2 separate regions of the Homo sapiens genome follow, and region 2 is linked to region 1. Evidence: promoter capture Hi-C in human tissues and cell types (Jung and others, 2019). All regions are on one chromosome and are shown on one strand. Each heading gives the region's core, a stretch centred on a gene start or on the middle of the fragment in contact. The rest is flanking DNA. Distances are from core to core; before and after follow the strand shown.

Region 1 (3,759 bases), core at 1,039-3,538:
CTTTCTTCTCCAGTGTTTTTCTTAGGGAAATAAACATAAATACACAAATATTTCTGCATATAAATTTCATCCTGCTTTCCAATCTATAAGTTATGTGAAATTGTCTCTATTTTTAAAGAGAAACTATTAGAGTTTAAGAAGTCTTCCCAATTTAATAAAGAAATTAAGTGGAAGTCAAGGAAGGCAGTTTATGGAGAAAAAATTAAAGCACAAAGCTTGGAGCTAGAATATCTGAGTTCCAGTGTGGACCTGGGCACTTTGTATCATTTGACTGTGAGAAAATTGCTTCTCAATACTTTATTTGTAAAATAAAACATATGAATACACGCAAAATTGTTGGAAAGATTAAATAGGCATACTGTCAGTAGAAACACTTTGAATATAAATATAAATACTTTTTAAAGAATTTATGGAAGAACAGACTTCTTTCTTGGCCTATGGTTGAAGATTAAATTAAAGAAACCTAAATGCTCATGTTTTTAGTCAATAAGACTTTGATCTAAACTTTTAAAGCTGCTTCTGACCAAACGTTTTTATTTGACTACTTCTCATCTTCAAACTCATGCACAGTATAAGTCATTCTTGCCATCTAACATGGGTCTAATATGGTTCATGATTTGCATTAACTTTGAGAGATTTTAGCTACCTAATAAGGAAAAAAATAGTAGTTAGAACCTTGTGCATCTTTGAGTTATCACCTACCCAATATTATCAAAAAGTACTACAAGATAGCCCTTGTGATATACAGGGATGGAGAATAACAGTGAACAATGAAAACTACTTACAATTTCAGAGAAGAACAGGATAGATCTTAGGGCCAACAAGTTTAAGATGTCTTTTACCTCTTTATATGTTACTCATTTTATCACATCCAACTGGAATTATTCTTGCACTTCCTATTATTGAAAGCTTCTAGAAATTTGCAAGAAGCAGATAGACCTAATAATTAATCTGATCATCAGTCCCCCCCCAAAAAAATGCTTGAGTCATAAATAGCAGCGAAATCCATTGATTGTAAATAAAGTAGAAGGGAGACATGACTGAGCCATTTCCACCAAGCAAGATAATTAAAGTCAGAGATGCTGTTTCCTGCTTCCCTGGTATAAACAATGAAGCTGCTCTACTGGCCTCTCCACAGCCTGGATGTCCCAAAACCACCTCCCTCTTCTTTCCTTCCACATTCTCTAAAGAGGATTCTGGGTCATAAAGGAAGGAAAATTGGTGTAACTTTTTTCCTGAAACGACTTCAGCTTCCTCTGTGTTTGTATTTGTGATATCTTATTATAAGACGAGCTAACATCTATTATTAATTGATGCACTAATTAAAGCCATACTTGCAGTTTCCATTAGCTTATTCCCTAAATTCTCCAGAGTTGCCTGTCTGGTTTTAATCAAAACCAAATGGTAGTCCAAATTCCCAACCTGGAGCAGCTAGGAGGAAGTCATTCAAGGGAGGCACAAGAAAGCAGAAAAGATAAACAGATGATAGTTCACAAAATTTGTGACGGACGAAGGATGCAGATACCATGAGCGGCTTTAGAGATGTGATTCAGGAACGCTGCCATGCTAGATGGAAGCAGTTGTAAGTGTTTAATGTCAGCAAGACTCTAATACGATCAAGATGGAGCCTGTCTTCTGCTCCAGCACTGGATTTTTGTAACTGGAGGATTCTGACTAGAGGTAATGCGCTGCTGCATTTGCCATAACACGAACTATTTTAATTCTGTGAAGGATTCTTGTGATCAGAGAGATCTGGAAGAAATCGTTCTATTAACTGGATGCTTGGGATTTTACTTACAGATGGTCTCAGGGACAGAATGAAAAGCTGCAGCATTTCCAATTTTAAGTCATGTTCAAAAAAGGTTTTGCCATTTAGAAGAATTATGGTATTAAGGCTAAATTCATCTTGCTCTCTTAAAAGATCTTTTGAAATGAGAGCAAGCACAGGCATTTTGATTAAGCTGTGCATATACATTTAATATAGTGGAAAGGTTGTGGATAGAGAGAAAACTACGTTTTCTTTCTTTCTTTCTTTCTTTTTTCATAAGCAGTGTGGGATAGAAAAAGCTCTAGGACTTTATGACTCTACAGCTAATCACCTCAAGAGCTTTGACAAAACTCACTTGAGTTCTGTGTAAAATCAGAACTCCTAAAACGCCCAGGCGGCTGGGCTCTCCCCTCCTCCCCTCTCTTCGTACAGCCTTTCTAGCATGCACACTCCTCAGAGGCAGGAAATACTTTCCAGGCAATCTGGGCCTGGTTGTGGAGGCCCCTTTTGCAAAACCTCAGTCTGAATTTAGTAGACAGAAGTCACTAGGAATGCCTTGACAGGATCCTGCCTTAGCTAAGGCTCCCTCCAGCTGCAGAGGGTGTTTTTGTTAGACTCACACACTGCGTGAAACTGCTCAGAATAGAGCCATGATCTCAACCACGAAATGGGAACTTAGATTTTGGAGAAACTAACGGGGACGGACTTCTTTCCTAGCCTGAGTGTTGAGCAGTGTCATGCCTTGGCGTTTCAGCTCCTCGTTGTCTAGGTAAGACGCTATGGACTATCTTTATGCTTTGAGGCGGTCTTTGAAGAGGCAGAAAGATTGAGATAAATGTTAGCATCTTGCACGGAGTTGGTGACTTCCTAGGTTTTAGAGCAAAGCCATAAAATCAGAAGTGGAAAATGTTTGATAAGTAGAAAATTCTGAGTCAATTCGTTTTAGCAAACTGTCAGTTCTAAAACAGGCTCCATATAGATTTAACTCTTTTCCTCCATAAAGTAAGATTTTATTTTTATCCCTTTTTACGTTTAACTTATTTATTAATTGAGCTGTCGGATCAGTTTTCCTATTTCTTGGCATAACGTGAAACAAATACATTTTCTCACACATCAGTGTGAGGTGTAAATGAATTCCTCCCCTACCTTCCTTTGCCAACAGGGAGAGTAGAAAGCACCCGAGTGACTTGTGCTTAATAATCAGTCTCCAAAGAGTATTTTGTGTCTCATTTAAAACTACGAAGATTGAATTTCTTATTATTTTACCCAAGCCAGTTTCAATCATATGTCAAGCTTCTCCTGTACAGCTTAAAAGGTTCATTTAAAAAAAAAAAGTAAACACGTGAAATTTCAGGAATTATTTCTGTCCTAAATAGTATTTAATCTGAGTTTTGGAAATTTAAATGTCGGAATCGAATTTAGTTTATATTAATTTTCCTGGATTCACTGCTTGCTCCGGTCACATTTTGTGTAATATTTTGAATAACTGAAGTCAATCTCAATGACACTGACACTCATTATAACTCTTTTAAGGCAGCCAGAAATCACTCCAGTCATATGGAAACTGTTTGTGTCCTTACTTATGTAATCGTAAAATTACATTTCCACCTGACTGTAGTCTCTTCAAGGTAATCTTAAATGTTTAAATGTACAATATATTAGAAAAGAAGTTTAGTAATGACCGAAAAAGTGTGGACTTATAATGCATAAGATACTGTTATATTTCTGAATATTTATAATAAAATTCATCATTTTATAGAAATAAAATGGTACATAAAGGGAAGAAATATTCATGTACATTTTCAAATCTATTAGATGAATACAAAATATACTAAGTGAAAGATGGAGAGCTATTTTGACAGTTGGATCATAAGAAATGAAGTAACTGTTTTCATTATAAGTTTTTATATAGTACAAGGTGACCATCTGCTATATTAGCTATTCTCAAATTTTATGCTAGAATAACTTATATTGATAAATTTTAACTATTC
Region 2 (3,593 bases), core at 824-3,323, 140 kb before region 1:
GAGCAGCTTAGATTGTATTCTGAGATTAGATAGCTCTGGGGTTTTAAACTGAAGCGTGATTTAATTGTACTATTGTATGTGTATTTTGGATTCATAAACATGAACATGATATAAACAAAAAATGATGAATTGATGATGAAATGCATTGCTTAGTTATATTGCTTAATAATTCCCAAACTAAGCTTGTTCATAACTAGAAACATTTTACTTTCTGAACATTGAAGAATAAACATTTGGTCTTGTGGTTTCATCATATTTTAACAGTTGCTTATAAGGGAACACACATCAGACCACACGGCACTAATGTCCATGTAGTAATATGTATTTTCTTGTGTCTCAAAGATAATACCTAAAATCTAAAAATGTGTGCTTTCCCTTCCAGAAGGTGGAGGCCTTGGCCCAGCCCATGTTGAATCCAGGTAAAGCCATGTGACAAGTACTCACAAGAGAACATGAATGGAAGTGATGTTTGTTTCTTTTGGGTTAGGGCCTTAAAGATGCTGACAAGTTTCCTCCACTCTCTTTTTCCCCTTCTTCCACTGGAAAGGGAAGGCCAATCAATTTTGTATTTGTTAAGCAGTACAAGTATTTACAGGCCATTTTCCAATTATCCAATGATTGGCTATGTTTGAGAAATTATTTTACGTGGTTTTGGAAGCAGATTTTTCTTTTGAAAGACAGCTATTCTTAGTAGAAAGTCATGGGCCAATTTACTTGTCCTAAAATTATACTGAAATACTGAATATATCTAGTGGAAAAGATAAGGAATACAACATTAATACATAGATGGTATGCAGCTACTCAAACCAGAGGGGACAGGGAAGCTACAAAATGGAATGACTCAGTTCCCTAAATTGCTGGCTAGAAGAATGCAGCTGGGCAAACTGAAGCACCCTCTTTACAGGTCCTTTTCTTCCATGAAGTTCTATTCAATTCCTTCAATTGCTGGATAGAAGAACACAGCCCGGTGTACAGAAACGCCCTCTTTACAGGTCCTTTTCTTCCATGAAGTTCTGTTCGGTTCCTGCCAGAAAACTACTGCCCTCAATGTGCCATGCTCAAGACTACCCTCCTCTGTCAAACCTGACTCCTGCTTTCTATCTTTCCCCACAGAGAACCCATTGCCTCCCTTTACTGCCTGGAGAATTGGGACTGGGGGATTGGAGATGGGGGAGAATGAAAATTGTAGTGATCATTTTCTCTGAGGGATTTTTCCCCCACACACTCAGTTCTTACTTATTAAACGGCTTTTGTATGTCTTAGGAATAAAAAGCCATTCTTCCTGGGTGTCTTCTTCCTGCTAGCAATGGAGCTCTACCTGGTCTCGTCAGCAATCACGTCATTAAATCTGACTGGCAACTTGCAGAGGATGGTGGGGCCGAGAGACAACAGGTCAAGTTTTCGAGGGTATGTCCTCTGAAACTCAGGCAGGAGTTCAGGTAGTAAGAATTTGAAAGCTATCAAAAACAGAAGTGGGCATTCTCCTTCTTGCTGAATGAGCTACTCATTCAGGAAAGCCAGTGTTGAGTCAGAGATTTAATAAAGACATGCAACAAGTAGCTGAAACTTTAGGAAGATAACAAAGCCACTTCCTGAAGAAACCAAGCATTGGCAACAAACTGAGCAGGTGGAGGGAAACTGTCCAGATCTCATAAAGATGCTGGCAGTGTAGATTAGGTTACAGCTTCCATTTTTAAAAGATTTCTCAGATTTCTGTCATATTCTCACTGAACGGTTTCTATCCTAATCTCAAAGGGCCTAACATGTTCAAAGAAAAAGAGATCAGGAAGGAGCAAGGAGGACATTAAAAGGGCATTGGGCAGCGACAATATCTCACCAGGGATTAATAATACCAGGTGTAGGGTATTAATCCCTGCCACCAGGTTTAATATTAGATTTCACATAGTGTCTGGCACCTAATAGCTGCTGAAAGCATGAGTGTTGTGTGAGTGTATAAATGGGTGAGTGGGTGACGATTGAATGAATTAGTAAATCAAAGTATAAATATTTAGCTTCCTGGTTATGAATTTTAGGCAGAAAAGTGAAGATGGAAGTATCCAGATTCATCTGATGATCCTCACTCAAAGACTTGTCTTCCTGCACCATCCTCCTCCGTTTAAGAGTGATTATTTGAGGAGCACCTTGTGATGTTGAAAAATAAGAGTTGAACACTGACAAGCTAAAGATTACTGGAGATTAAGGAAAGTGCGTGGAGTAAGATTTCAAGTCACCTGGAGCCAAGGATATAGTGAACCAATTGAGTACTAAGACATACAGCAAGAAAAAAAAATCTAATTTTATCTTCAAGGAGATGAAAGAAAGAAGAAGGAAGTTTTGGGACAAAAACAATCAAATACTAGATTTGATGTTAAATAAAAATCTCTTTGTAATTCAATGCCTACCCCACACTCACATTCTCAACCCTACTTTTTTCGTTACCATCAATGCATCATTACTGTATTCCTTTTTCTCCACGAGAAATACTCAATATTTCAACACAATTGTGTGATAAATAAATTGGCCTATGACTTCTTATTAAGAAGAGCTGTGTTTCAAAGAGAACTATGTTCCCACAATCACTTAATCTCTTGGAGCATAGCAAATCACCACATAATTGAAATATGGCTGTAAAGACTTGTGTTTGCTTAATAAACACAAAATTGATTGGCCTAAATGGATTTTCTACTTATTTTAGGGAAAAACAACAAAAGACAAAAAGTGAATATTTTAAAAAGAAAGAACTATGTACAATTTTTGAAAATGTATGGAAAACCAGAGTATTTTACAGATATTTTTACTGCTTTTGCTAATATCAAATTTAAAGGGATATTGGAAACACATATAAGCAATTTAACTGATTTATGTTAAGTACAACGGTGTTCTTAAAGTATGTTTTTAATTTACTTAATTGTCTCGCCTAAATCTAGATCTTGTCCAGGTCAGTTCTTTTAGAAGACCTCTGGAGGGCAATGTCTCATTTAAATTATAACTGAAGGCACTCTAAGGTTTTATTGGCAGTGTACCTTAGCAAGTGAATCCTATTGAATTAAAGCGCCAGATAAGTAACCACTGCGTATATAACTTGGCTTTTAGCAGACTGAAAAAAAAAATATATACCTAACCAGCAAAGTCAGAATGAAATGCTTCCTTTGAGCCTACATTGAACCCCTTTGATGGTTTACACACCTTCAACAAATTCTCAAAGTCATTGGTTTAACCACTCTTGGACGCACCCGGCTGAGTTGGATGAAAACTTCAGTTTTGTGTTCTTTTCACTTGAAAGCTGTATGTCTATTCTCAGCATCATGCATGTTATTTTTTTTTTTCCATTCTTAACAGTATTCCTCATTTACAAAACAAAAACGATAATAATCAGAAATAGTCCTATAAAAATGTTAATTTTGTTTAGCCATTGACTGATCTTTCTCTAACCTTAACACTTTGTGATTATTGACTTTTGTTGCATTTAACACTCCCCAATTATCTAGCCATTTCGAATATCAACATTATCCCAGTGTAATTGATTTTTTAATACATCACTCTATGTTACTGTTTTATGCCTTCATATTAGCAAAATATGAATTTCTGTTAAA

What was found. Contacts are between HindIII fragments. The study calls those that stand out against the background at their distance.
Region 2: a contact is called between a fragment that was not itself captured here and the fragment with the promoter of DLC1 in region 1, in 1 of the 25 tissues and cell types used here (bladder).

Annotation. Positions count from the first base shown.
Region 1 is chr8:13,513,380-13,517,138 of GRCh38, reverse strand. It overlaps DLC1 (DLC1 Rho GTPase activating protein), which reads left to right and starts at 2,288. Exons shown (of 18, transcript NM_182643.3): 1 at 2,288-2,537. The HindIII fragment of the contact is 7,641 bases long and covers 563-3,759 here.
Region 2 is chr8:13,654,626-13,658,218 of GRCh38, reverse strand. No RefSeq gene overlaps it. Among named protein-coding and RNA genes, the nearest start is that of C8orf48, 90 kb to the right of the region's middle. The HindIII fragment of the contact is 6,310 bases long and covers 1-3,593 here.